5 separate regions of the Homo sapiens genome follow, and all the other regions are linked to region 3. Evidence: promoter capture Hi-C in 16 types of primary human blood cells and fetal thymus (Javierre and others, 2016). All regions are on one chromosome and are shown on one strand. The core of a region is centred on a gene start or on the middle of the fragment in contact, and the rest is flanking DNA. Distances in the headings are between cores, read along the strand shown.

What was found. Contacts are between HindIII fragments. The CHiCAGO score rates a contact against its expected background, and 5 or more counts as called.
Region 1: a fragment that was not itself captured here is called in contact with the fragment with the promoter of HHLA2 in region 3 in 1 of 17 cell types (neutrophils); the score reaches 5.8 in neutrophils.
Region 2: a contact is called between a fragment that was not itself captured here and the fragment with the promoter of HHLA2 in region 3, in 1 of 17 cell types (total B cells). The highest score is 5.0, in total B cells.
Region 4: a contact is called between a fragment that was not itself captured here and the fragment with the promoter of HHLA2 in region 3, in 1 of 17 cell types (erythroblasts). The highest score is 5.3, in erythroblasts.
Region 5: a fragment that was not itself captured here is called in contact with the fragment with the promoter of HHLA2 in region 3 in 1 of 17 cell types (neutrophils); the score reaches 5.6 in neutrophils.

What each region holds. Positions count from the first base shown.
Region 1 is chr3:107,987,261-107,989,960 of GRCh38, reverse strand. No RefSeq gene overlaps it. Among named protein-coding and RNA genes, the nearest start is that of CD47, 100 kb to the left of the region's middle. The HindIII fragment of the contact is 1,134 bases long and covers 817-1,950 here.
Region 2 is chr3:107,897,245-107,899,944 of GRCh38, reverse strand. The region is part of intron 1 of LINC00636 (long intergenic non-protein coding RNA 636); the gene reads right to left. Among named protein-coding and RNA genes, the nearest start is that of LINC00636, 15 kb to the right of the region's middle. The HindIII fragment of the contact is 491 bases long and covers 1,144-1,634 here.
Region 3 is chr3:108,295,151-108,297,850 of GRCh38, reverse strand. It overlaps HHLA2 (HHLA2 member of B7 family), which reads right to left and starts at 1,303. Exons shown (of 10, transcript NM_001282556.2): 1 at 1,252-1,303. The HindIII fragment of the contact is 2,475 bases long and covers 1-1,758 here.
Region 4 is chr3:107,918,651-107,921,350 of GRCh38, reverse strand. All of the region lies in intron 1 of LINC00636 (long intergenic non-protein coding RNA 636), which reads right to left. Among named protein-coding and RNA genes, the nearest start is that of LINC00636, 37 kb to the right of the region's middle. The HindIII fragment of the contact is 197 bases long and covers 1,344-1,540 here.
Region 5 is chr3:107,960,273-107,962,972 of GRCh38, reverse strand. No RefSeq gene overlaps it. Among named protein-coding and RNA genes, the nearest start is that of LINC00636, 78 kb to the right of the region's middle. The HindIII fragment of the contact is 6,015 bases long and covers 1-2,700 here.

The DNA of each region.
Region 1 (2,700 bases), core at 134-2,633, 310 kb after region 3:
AGAGAGGCCTGGGGGAATGCAGTTCAGGGAGCCGGTAGCCCCAGCAGTGTGCAAATCACTTAGCCAATATACAAATGACTTTGCAGAAGTACAGTGAGGCTTCCCAGACCAAATCATCTCCATTTGTTTCTTATTATTAAAAGGGAAGCACTTTCTGCCATCACTGGTTCTTTCGCCCTCCCCTATCCTTTGCACAATTTACATACACATACACAGACAACATGCACACACACTTAAAATTCAATGTTTTCCTTTCCCTGTAGACTTTTAGTAAATTAAAAAAAAAAACAAAACCATAAACTTCAGATATCTTATAATTACAAATCTTCCATTCAGCAGTTTGCAAAACAGATGCATTTTGTTAATTTTCATCCCATCTGGATGACATGTAGAAGTTGCTGGACATTTGAAAATGGATGTTGACATCGTCAAACATCCCCCAAGACTTAGGATTGTGAGCCTAAGGAAAGACTCAGCAAAGGAAAGAAAGAAAATGTGTTCATTCTAACAGGTCTTTGTTTAAGTGCACACTACTTTTGATCATAATCTGTGGACAATGTTTACGGAAAAATCATATGCTAATCAAATGGTTTAGTCCTGGGAAACTTTAAAGCCCTATAGACAAGCAAAGAGCCTGCCCAAGTACAACTGAACTCTCTCTCTGCCACCCAGCCCCAATTCAATCACAATGCTAGTGTGACCTCCAATTGCTGATATTCCAAATTCTGAATATTATATTTAGAGATCTCTAGTGGAGATCACAGATTTCAAAAGAGTGAAACAAAATGTGGAGACCATAAGGAACATTGTAAAGCTTAATACTGTTACCAAAGTTCAGCTTCGTATTAGGTGAAAATATCATATAGGGCTCGGTTCTTCTCTGTCTGTGAGGCAAACAGGGCTGCCCCAAGATGCAGGGGAAAGCAGAGCTTTCTTGCAGCTTCTCCTTCTCTGAGTTGAGCCTGGAAGAGGAAATTTTAAGTGTAACTAAGGGGGAATGGGCCAGCCCTGCTTACACATGGCAGTGGTAAACAGAGTAAGCTCTGCACTTTACATAAATGCTCAAATCCTGCACTTTTATATAAAATGTATTGACTGACCAGCATATATTGGACACTTAACTATTTAGAATTTTTTAAAAAAGAAAAACCAAAAAAAGATGCTTCTGGCAGGGCTGCCTTTATGCAAAGTATTAAAAGTGACTCATCTGGATTATGGCTTTTTCTAACCCCACCCTTCCGTGTTTGCCTTTCCTTTTGCTGAGCAAAACTTTATGCCAGGCAGGGCTCACTGCTAGTGAGGGGAATTTGGGCACGGTTCCAGGCCCCACTTGTTCCCTTGTCTTGAGCATCCTTGCAGTGATCCTTACAGTGATTTGGACTTGCCAGAGTTGCATCGGGATTGGCAGGAGAGTGCCCAGGGCTGCAGCGATGCATGTGGAGCACTGTGAGTGGAACTGGAGTTGGTCTGGCAGGCCTGGTTCAAAGTGCAGAGGTGAGAGGCAGCATCAAAATCATGTAGGAATCCCCTAAGCATTGACATACGTTGTCCCACCCAGCATCTCTGCAGGTAGAGCCCAGGCAAGCATAGAGCTGCAGGGGATGTGTTAATATTGTCAGTCCTGGAGTGTGAGGACATGGCTAGGAAGGTTTAGGGATTGGGCATTGCAGATCCTGCAGCCTCAGCTGCTAGAAGAGGCCCCAGAAGGTGGTCACCATTGTCTGGAGTCTTCTTCTGCCTTTAAGGTCAGAGCAGCTGGGGGAACTTTCCCAATCCTAGTCTCACCAGGCTTCTTCACCACCTAGGTTGAGCAGATAAGAATCCAGGCTCCTGGTGACCTTCATTCATTCAACATATAATTACCAAGGGCTTTGCATGTGCCAGGCACTGTGTTAGGCACTGGGGAGACAGTGCTGAGCAAGAAAGATGTCATGTCTGCTTCATGAAGCTTAACCCTAGCAGAGGGACCCTAAAAAGATATATAAGTAGTCATTACTTTTACCTGAATAACTAGACGAAGTGCAACACCATCATCCTCCAAGGTCTTGGCCAGGCACAAATCTCTTGACACCTTTTCTAAAGGAATTCAGACTTAGTTTGTAGATGGAAATGTATGTGTAGAGTCAAAGGGAGTTGAAAGACCATCTGGTACCCCTGCCTCTAGCTCACAGATGAGTACATTGACATACAGAGCCATGAGGAAACTTGCCATGGTCACATGGCTTATTGGGCCCACAAATAGATTTGAGAATGTATTCCCAACCACATACAAGATGCAAATGTGTATCCTAACATACTCTAATTATAAAACATGCATAATTATATTAGTGAATAGCAGGAAGTATAGGGGTAGAAAGTCCCAAATCACAGTAACCGTATTTTTGATTTTGGAATGCATTTCTGCATAACATATGAACCTGAATACGCCTGAAGTCCTGGGAATTCCCTTCAAACAAAGTGATGAAACTGCACAATAATGACCTGACTCAAGAGTTGCCGGGAAGCTGTCCAATATTTCCACGCTGGCTCTTGCTCAATTCTTCTGTGAAGTCTGTGCCTTCCGGTGAAAGTAGATTTCTAGGTCTTAGAGAATGATAGAAGGCCTCTCCTCTGCCCCACCTCTTTCATGCCTTTCATGTAGGCAAAGTAGACAGGGAGGGTGTTTTCTCCCAATCAAGCTATAATCAAACTGACTTAGAA
Region 2 (2,700 bases), core at 140-2,639, 400 kb after region 3:
CTAGATATGATTTCAAAAGGACAGTTAAGGCAGAAGTGAAGTGTTCATTTAGAAGAGGGCACACAGGATGGCTATAACAGAGAAAACTTTAATAGTGAGATGTACCAGAAGTTGGTAGGAGAAAGCTAACAGTGAAATTGTGGTGATGGAGCAGAGAAAATTTTCAGCAAGGGAGATGGAAGGCAGATGGGAGTACTGTGAAATTAAAGAAGGAGGCAGGGTAGTTATTCATAGCTATTCTTCTGTTATAACTCTGAAATATGTGTGCTTAAAGAATAAATAGAAAGTAATTGATTTGAAATAGAAAAGCATTAAAGCTTAGAAATATGGAAACATGAGAAATGACCCTGAATTAAACGTGTTTGAAATGGTTTTTAGGGCTTTCTTTGGTCCATGTAAGTCACCTTAACAAAATATTTAAATAAATCATTTTGAAAAAATAGTCACTGGACTTTTTGAAAGAAAAAAGCCCTACTGACTCAAGGCAAACTGTATGGCTAAAAATTATGAAAACTGTTGTAGGACTCCAAAAGGCAGCCCTTGCCTCAAGGTGGGTGCTGGTTTTTGTTCCCCAGAGGGGGGTCATGTTATCAAACACCACTTGTCCCAAGTCCGGTTTTCTAGACGAGACCCTGCAAGGGGTGAAGTGACCAAAGGCGATTCTCTATAGAGGAGGACAGCTAGGCATGGTTACTAGCCAGCATTGCAGCCGCTGGGAGACAGGTGCACCAGCTGGTAAGGCAGAGCTGGCAGGGCACTGAGAGCCCCCACTACATCACCTAATCATCTTCAACCTGGTGATGCATCCCACCACGATGAAATTGTGTGCTTTCATCACAGTCAAAATTAAAAGACCATGAGGCAGCTTAGTGCAGAGAAAAGAATCCCTTTGATGGAGGTAGCTGACCTGGGAAAAGGTTTCTCTTCCACCACAACTATGAGATTTGGGGCAAGTCACTCGGCCCCTCTAAGCTTGTTTCCTCATTCATAAGGTCAGAAAAATTAAAAAGACTATTTTGAGAGTCAGACTAGGAAATTAATATAACATACATAGACAATATATTGATGCATGATATGCAAGTGTACCATATATTTACTTGTTTATATTAATAAGAAAAGATCTGGAAAACTATATGCTAAGCTTAACTGTAAGTTATCCCTGAGGGAGGGGCACTGTGGATGGTCGTAGAGAGAAGTACAACAGTGTGGTGAGCAGCGCTGACTTTGGAGCCAGGCTGTTTTTTGGACTCTGGGCAAGTTGTTTAACCTCTCTGTGCCTCAGTTTCCTTTTCTGTAAAATAGGGATAGGTAAAAACCTACCTCATAAGGTTGCTTTGACAATTAAATGAGCTTATATGTAAAAATCATTTACAATTTTGCCAGGCATGCTGTAAGAGGAATATAATTGTTAGATATTCATGTTCTTTTATTTTGCTTATTCTTGCCCCTAATTGTCTATAGTGATTGTACATTGATTTTACAAGAAAAACGTATAAAACATAGAAAAAAGTTCTTTTTAACATGTGAACTATTAATAGCTGGTAGACATTTTAATTAACCTTTATTTTAAATGGGAATAAAATAATTAAAACTGTCCAAGCAATACATCAAATAGAGAATAATGGTCATAAGCTTTCTACTGCTCCACTCAGGAGCATTAAGTTTCTTAGCCTTGAGGTTGATGTGTTTGCATGAGTTTTTGCTGCTATTATTTTTATCTCTCCTTTTGCACAGCAGTGGGAATCCGAAGTCCTGCCTTGCATTCTGTTTTTTCACAGCCAACTCTGTGTAAATGCAACATCAGTATTTCAACTTTTAGCAGTGGGGGTCATCTTGTATAGTTGTCTAAACTGTGCAGCGTTTTTTTTTTTATTTTAAGAGTATAAAACAGTAACAGCTGCTGTCCCACTCATAATAGACAAATGAATACAAAATGGCTGAATCATCAGCAGCTCCTGGCAGACCCTAAGACCTGTGGACAATAAACCTCTCCTGAGACCAGACACTTCGGTTACAGCCTTGTGCTGTCATGGCCACATGTGAACTCAGCACGTTCTCCACATACCAGGTGTCTCTTGCCTAAGGTGTGGGTTCAGGACAGGCAACTGCTGTTTTATCAAGAATATTCAGCTGGCTGAGCAAGGCCAATATTGAAAAAATTTATTATTTGAATTGTTCAATTCCCTGGGAACTTTCCTTTTATTGCACAGGAGGAATGAGGAAGTGACAGCACCACACATACACACACACACACTCACACTCTCACACTCACAATGCTTTAGGTCAAATTATCATCAAGGAGCCAGTAGGATTTCTAAGAGAAAATGGGCTGCTGCAATCATGTTTTCAATCTAGCCACTACACTTGGCAGGTAATTGCAAGCCAGGGGCAAGCCACAAATACCATTAAATACAGACATTATCGTTCCTGACACCCACAAGCGCCATCATAATAATGAACTACCAGTATACTCAGATTTCCTGATCACATGGACTATACATTTCACAAGAACTTTTAAAAGTCCAGACGAATGGAGGAACTCTCCAGGCTGTAAGATTTCTTTGGAGACTAGATGAATTCAGCGGGATAAAGTTAATTGAGGTAAAACAAAAATGGTGATGGATTTATTCTAAATTTAGAGAGCAGAAAGGTTTTTCTTTTTCAGTTCAGCTCTTTCCTTCCAAGATTTCTTTCTGTTTT
Region 3 (2,700 bases), core at 54-2,553:
AGAATCACTGGTTAATGATCAAAATATTAAGCTATGGTCTATTTTAAGCACCTGGAGGAAAACTCAACACAGGAATTGGTTTCTTTCCCAGCTCAGGCCAACTGATAGAACATGCTGGTGGGCCACACGCCAAAAGTAGGCAGAGCCTTCATTCATGGATTTATTTAAGAGCCACCAAACTTTCAGGCTACTCAATATGATTATATAGGAAATCATTTGTCTTTTACATCTATATTCTGAAATAATAATATTTATTAAACACTTTCTACATACCAGGCACTTTGCTAAGCACTTTAATAAATTTCATTTAATCTTCACAGCAATACTAGTCTACCCCCATTTTACAGATTAGGAAACTGGCTCTGAGAAAAATATACAACTGGTTAATGATGAAGCAGGTAAATGCACCAAGGATTACTTGACTCTAGAGACTATGATCTTGACCACTACACTTTATTGCATCTTTTGATTAAAATATGCTTATAATGGGATATGACACCAATTTGCCATTCTGGACAGAAATTATTTCCTCCAAGTTTCTAGGAAATGGGAAGCTCAAGTTTGTTTTGTCAGGTACCAGTAACACAAAAAAACCTAAATTACCTGTTCATATTTTTTTCTATTATCCAAAGTCCCAAACAATAGAAACCCAATGAGAATTGAATCTTAACTTTTTGAATCTTGTTTTAGTTATTAAAAAATGACATAAACTTAATGATTCTTCCCTGAGACAGTGGAAATATCTAGGAGACTTCTAAGTTTCTTGTATTAGAATTCAAAGATCACGATTCTTCTGCTAGATAACCACTACTACGGTCCTTTTGTTTCCACCACAGAATGGAACGCAGTGCATCTTGGAGCAGCTAATAAAACTCTGTAGTGTAACTAGATGAACAATTACAAGTAAGAATACACTCTTAGAGATTTTTTTAAAGTTCGCAGATAATTTTCAAAACAAACATTGCTCATCCCTCTTTCACTGTCTTACCAGAATGTTAGGTATTTTCCTCATTTTTGCTAAGTTCTTTTATTTGAAATATATCAGCATGTTCCTTCAAGACAACCTTTTACTAAGTATTTGTTTGGTGCATATGCACAATACATAGTATATGCACTAAATCAATTTAAAAGATCAGTCACTAATTTTTTCCTAACGGGAAAATAAAGTGTCAACTAAAAACCACCCATATTTGATTTATTCATGCCCACTTTTAAGTTCTAGGTATAAACAACTTAGAAAGAAATCCTTACCTTACTTAGAAATTCATACCGTCTAGTCAAATGCTAAGTAGTCCATAAGAATAAACATTGAATTCAGCTATGAGTTTCTCAGAGAGTAAAGTCCAAGGTACGTTTGATTTGCTACCTATGACAGACCAAGGAAATCACATCATCACCAAGGACTCCCTCCTTCAAACTAAGCCCCACCCAGATCTGAGTCAGTACAGATCTGAAAAGTCCAGGAATTAGAAGATGCAGTTTCAGACAACATATTGAAACAGCTAAGCATTGAGCTGTGGGAGCAGTGGACTCTGGTTTCCATGCTATGGTGTCAGCTTCACCATCAACATGATACAGGCAACCTCCTGAGGTTGGACTGCCTGTGACCTGTCTAGCTTGCTGCAGAGTTGTAAAGAAAATTGTGTAGCTGGTTGCAGTGGGTGCCAATAGTTCTGTGAGAAAGAACCATAACCCTACACAAAGTTCATCTGCACCTACAATTCCCATTACAGTTCTGGTCGCTAGAACACCCAAGCTTAAACTCAACTTCAGAGAAATAAAGACCTCTCTGAATTCCACATGGAAAGTTGGGCAGTGCCCAGCCTCTATGCTGTCATATCATTTAATCTCTCTCTCCCTCAGTGTCACATGCATGGCATGCATGCACATACAACAGATGCTAAGAGTCATGCTTTACTCACTATTGTATCCCAAACAACTACCACTTACTTACTAGCACATAGTAGCTGGTCAATATCTGTTTGCTGAGTGCATGGGAGCAAAAGTTACAAAGTGAACAAAAATTACCTTAGGAGGACAATAAACAGGACCCTTCTGTCTGGAACAAAGGATGCCATCCAAGCCTTGGCACAGCACACAAATCCCCTGATCATATAATCATAGGGCCCTGTCTAGCTTTATAGCCTTTCGGCATTACTCACCACATCAACGTTAACCTCCTGCCACACATGCACACTCAGGGGAGAGGGCAAAGTACATTTGGGGAACTCCCCCTCCTCTTCCCCATCTCTTCCTTGACTTCCTTCTTCTCTAGTCAGAGTCATCCATAGTGAGCCTTCTGCTGCCCACTGGAAACTGGGTTGAAAGCGCCAGGGCTCTTCCTAGAATCCCCAAAGTCACCCACGCCAACGTTTTCTTTTTTGTTTGTTTTTGTTTTTCGTTTTTTTTTTTTTTTTTTTTTTTGAGACAGAGTCTCTTTCTGTCGCCCAGGCTGGAGTGCAGTGGCACGATCTCGGCTAACTGCAAGCTCTGTCTCCCAGGTTCACGCCATTCTCCTGCCTCAGCCTCCCGAGTAGCTGGGACTTTCAACCCAGTTTCCAGTGGGCAGCAGAAGGCTCACTATGGATGACTCTGACTAGAGAAGAAGGAAGTCAAGGAAGAGATGGGGAAGAGGAGGGGGAGTTCCCCAAATGTACCTTGCCCTCTCCCCTGAGTGTGCATGTGTGGCAGGAGGTTAAA
Region 4 (2,700 bases), core at 193-2,692, 380 kb after region 3:
TGCATGTGCCACCCACTCCCCGGGTGCAGAGGCAGGATGGGCTGCAGGCTGGTAACACTCCTCCACAACCTTGCAAAGGCTTCACCCACTTCTCTCCTACTCTGAGAGCACATGGAAATGTGTGGGAGTGAGGTGACCTTAGGCAAGGATAATCTCACATCCACTCCAATTTACATGAAAAATGCTCCATTTGCAAACTTCAGAACTTAATTACTTATAACAAATTACTTGTGGAAAACTCTACAACTGACTGGGGCAGTATGTGACAGTGCTGTACTTGGGAATTAGAACTGTAATATAGTCCCATTTTCACGACAGAGTGTGGGACAGGGTCTATAGAATTTTGCCACAGGGGGCCCCAAGACCATCCAACCACAGGATTTCATATTCAGAGCAGAAGTGTCTTTGTCCGTGGTGAGTCGGTGTTTAGTCTGTATAACAGAAAGACCTTAATTCTTTAAGACCTGATGCAAATTAAAGAATCACCATGTACAGAAATACTGAAACAATCCAGATAAGAATGATTCATATTAATATTGAAAAGCTACATTGATCAAGGCACTTACCCTTTTGGTTACTCAGTTTCCTCTTCTTTAAAATGACTAGGATAATAGTACTTACATCATAGGACTGTTAATACCTGTAAAGTACTGTGAATGCTACTTGCCATACAGTAAGTTCTCCTTAAAGGTTAACTCCATTATTATTACTCTCATTACACCAACACGGCCATTTTTGTGGCTAAACTGAGGATAAAAAACACTGCTAGTGTTGCTAATTTTAAGTTCTACACTCACCCTAAGTATAACATAATAATGAAAGAAAGATGGATATATGAGCATCCTTCAGCCAGTTCAATTTATTGTTGAGTCAGAATGAGATACAGATAAATAGAAAATTAGCCTTTAAAATTATTTCTAGTGGAATTGTAAATCAACACAAACCTTCTACAGGGTGTTAAGAGCCTTAAAATACAAATACCCCATGCACCAGCAATTCCTTAACTGTGAATTTATCTAATGGGCACAATCAGAGATGTGTGAAAAGATACATGTGTAAGATTCTACATCAAACTTATTTATAATACTGAAAAATTGGAACAGCCTTAGTGTTTAACAATAAGCTACCATTTAAATAAAACACATACATTCATGTGGTAGATGCTGCACAGACATTAAAAACCATGTTGTAGAAGACTATATATTGACATGGACAAATGTTCACGATATATAACCCAGTGAAAATAGCAGGTTGCAAAAGAGTGTATCATAACAATCCTATTTGAATGTAAGTGTAACAGTTGGACTGAAGTAGATCCATGCAAATTTTTTTTTAATGAAGCTTGCTATATTCTCAAAACTTCTTTGAACCTTAAAATCTACCCAGAGCATATGTCTTATTTTTTGTCCTATTTTTGTTTAAATCTTAGTCTAGTCCACTGATTTTTGTAATCTATTCTTGTTAAAGTCTTAGGCTTTCTCTGTTGACAATTCTGTCAAAATTCAATATCATTAGCTGTCCTTACTCATAGGTACAAGCTTTTTCTCCCTGAACTAATACTGTCTATCCCAGCTTCACCGACTCCAACCCCAGCGGGGAGGAGAAAGAACTCCTCTTCTTGTGGCTGGGAGCAGCAGCCTCAGTAGTAGGAGGTGCCTGTGTCCTGATCTGGTGGCACTTTGTTCCGTGGCATCTGCTATCTTGCTGTAGCTGTATGCATGGTTTCCTGAGGCCATGTTCAGCTTCATGCCAGCTCCCTCATGGGATGCTTTTGCCCTAGAGGGGCAGCTGCGTGTCCCTTCGGCCCCCACTCAGGTTGCTGTACACCTGTGATCTCTCTACAAAGCTCTGTGCTTCCAGCAGACATCGGGGTCCTCTTCTGTGCCTGAAAGTCACAGAGAACAGGGGAAGGCATGTCCACTTCCTCCTTCCTCCTTCCTCTTCCAGGCACACTAAAGGATCTCTTCAAGCCCCACTGGCATACATTATGCCATCAAGCCTTCTACCTTCTGAAATTGCATGGAGCAGGAACCTTCACTGTCAAAGAGATGCATGTCAAACAGCTCCCTTACTTTCTGGGGTGGTGGTGGGAGGAGTGGGATGGCATGGGATGGTGGAAGGACCATGGAGCAGAGAAGGACAATTTGTCATCCCTGAGGGATCCCAGAGAGCCACCCTCAGAATCCCTTCAAATACTCCCTCTATTTTTTTAAACAAATCAACTATATTAAATTGTATTACATAAGATGAAATGCACCATTATAAATGTACAGTTTGATGAGCATTAACAAATGCATACGCTTATGTAAGCACCACAATCAAGATATGGAACATTTTTATCCGTCCACAAAGTCCCCTCTTACCCTTGTCAAGTCAATACTGGCTCTCCTATCCTATGCACCACTGATCTTCTTTCTGTCCCTTGAAATATAGTGCACACTTGCTAGCATTGCATGTAAGTAGCATAACACAGCATGTACATTCTTGCATGTGGCTAAGCATGATGTTGCTGAGATTTTATCATGATGTTGCTGTAGTTTGTTACATTTCATTGTCAAGTTGGGTCCCATTATATGGATATGTGACAGTTTGTTTATCCATTCACTGATTGATGGATATTTGGGTTGTTTTTCTGAGGGGGGGCTATAAACATCTATGTACAAGTCTTTATTTATGTGGATTTGTGCTTTAATTTCTATT
Region 5 (2,700 bases), core at 92-2,591, 330 kb after region 3:
AGCCCACATGACTGAAGGAAAGGCTGTGTCTCATCAGAAAGAGACTGCAAAATCATGGCAAGTTTTAATTTTTAATGATTCTTCCTGTCCTTCTCCAAAAGGATCTACAATCATCTACTTAGGTAACAATGTACTGGGGAAAGGGGAACACTTAAGCCTTTCAAGAACTGAGTGTTAACATTAACACCTGGGGGCCCAAAGCATCATCAGGTACACACTCATACACACACACACACACATACACACACACAAACACACCTATTTTAAAGGGTGCAAATGAGGACTCTGGATAAAAATTGGCTCATAGTAGATCAACTACGTGTATGGGCCCAACCAGTGGTCATTTCCCTAGTTTCTGAATACCTAATTAGAAGAAGCAATTGACAGAACCCCTCTATTGGTTTTCTGGCCTATAAGGTAAGAATTATAATGGGAAAGCCCAAAGAAGCCTCTGATACTACTCCATCAACTCTGGACAACACATTAAATCAAAAACAATATTGCATCCTGGAGGAAATGACAGAGATTAGAGTCCATCTTGAAGATCAAAAGGATGCAGGGTTAGAAGCCACACCCTATCCCTATTTAATTGACCAGTCTTACATCTATAAAAGCCATGTGGCTTCTTGGTATGAATTTTTGGGCAACCGACAATTCTACCAAGTAGCAGCCCCAATTGTAGCTGCTGTACAAATTGTGGTGTCTTTGCTAGAGCAAGTTAACACGGTGTCTAATACATGCTGTGAAACTGATAAGAAATACACATATTGGTTTCTGCCAGCAGTCCTTGGCACAGAGCTCCTCAAGCCTTCATAATTTCCTGATGAATAGGGGTGCTACAAGCATCTTGTATTTTAATATTTGGTCTTTGACTCTGGATCCTGACCCAGCGCTCCTAAGTCCTTTGGCATTTTCTGGGCGACAGGAGCTTCTTTTGCTCTAATAAGGTGACTCTTGGTGGGCTTTTGCATAGCCTCAAGATAAGAGCCAGTTATCAGGGAACCAACTATGGGATTAGAAGGTTGGAAGTTTCAGCCCCAGCCCCTGACCTCCAGGGAAAGGAGAGTGGCTGAAAGTTGAGTTCATCACTAATGGTCAATGATATAATCAATTATGCCTGTGTAATGAAGCCTCTATAAAAACCCAAAAGGACAGGGTTTGAGTGGGCATACAGATAGCAGAACACATGGAGATCCCTGGAGGATGGTGTGCCCAGAGATGGCATGGAAGCTCCTCCTCTCCCATTCCTTGCCCTGTGTATATCTTCCATCCGCCTGTTTCTTTGTAATATCCTTTATAGTAAACCAGATAGCATAAGTAAGTATTTCCCTGAGTTTTGTGAGCTACCCTAACAAATTAGTTGAACTCAAGGAGGTGGTCACAGGAGCCCTGATTTACAGACAGTAGGTCAGAAGCAGAGGTCAGACAACCTTGAGCTTGTGATTACCATCTGAAGTGTGGGGCAGTCTTGTGGGACTGAGCCCTCATCCTGTGGGATCTGTTGTTGATTGTTGAGTGGGAGAATAGAAAAAGCCCTTTGGTTTGGTTTTCTCCTATACACCACACATGGCATGCAGCCATTGATCTGCACTGAAATGAACAGCAATATATACTTATGATCTTGCCCCAGGACTATGTTAACTCTTTCCCTCTCTCCTAGTATAGTGACCAGACCAGTAGCTCCTGAGAACCATACATTTCTCCACTTTAAGCAGGAAGTCACAAGCATTTTGGAGGACTTGGTGAGACATATGAATTGCAGAATGTGGAAAATACATCTAATGAAGATTGAGGGCCCTGAAATATCAAGGAAATTTCTTGATGGGGTCTAGTGGTTTGGGCATGCCATGACAACCCTCTCAAGGCAAAGAACAAAGTATTGTATATTACCCCTCCCACCACTAAGGAGGAAGCATAATGCCTGGTGGGCCTTTTTAGGTTCTGGATGTAGCATATTACATACTTGGTAACAGTGCTCAGACCAAGTGTTCATTGCTATGTTCAAAACATAGCTTAAAACAATAATCATTTTATTGGTAGTTTCTGTGGGAATCCAGGAATTCAGGAAGGTGTCATTCAAGTGAATCTGGTTTGAGTCTCTTGTGTACTTGCAGTCAAACACTTGTTGGACTTAAAATAGTGGGAGACGAAAGAAGACAGCCAGAGAGAGGAAAGGAAGACTGGAGCCGCTGAGAACTGGCCAGAGTCCCCTCCCGCTTTCCCCCTTCCTTTCTCTCTCCCTCCCCACTGTAGTCTCAGGATCTCTCCAGATAGTCTCTCCACATGGACTAGGTTGGGCTTCCTCATGACATAGTAGCTGGGTTTCAAAAACAAACATTCCCAGAAGGCAGGGTTGAAGTTGCTTGGTCTTTTCTAACCTAGCCTCAAAAATCATGCAGCATTACCTCTACCATTCTCCATTGGTTGGAGATGTCACAGACCCCATTCAGACCCCTGGGAGGGGGACATAGGCACCACCTTCTGATGAATGGAGGTTCAAAGGATTTGGGGGCCATTTTTGGAAACTGCTATAGTATGATACACTGGAATCAGCACCAATTCTAGAAAAATCTTGGCATGTGTCTTGGCTCTACCATTTTCTGCTTGTGTGGTTATGACCTATAATCTCTCTTTGCTTTAGTTTTCTCAATAGCAATATGGAGGATGACAATGCTTTTTAATAAAACTCCTTTGAATGCA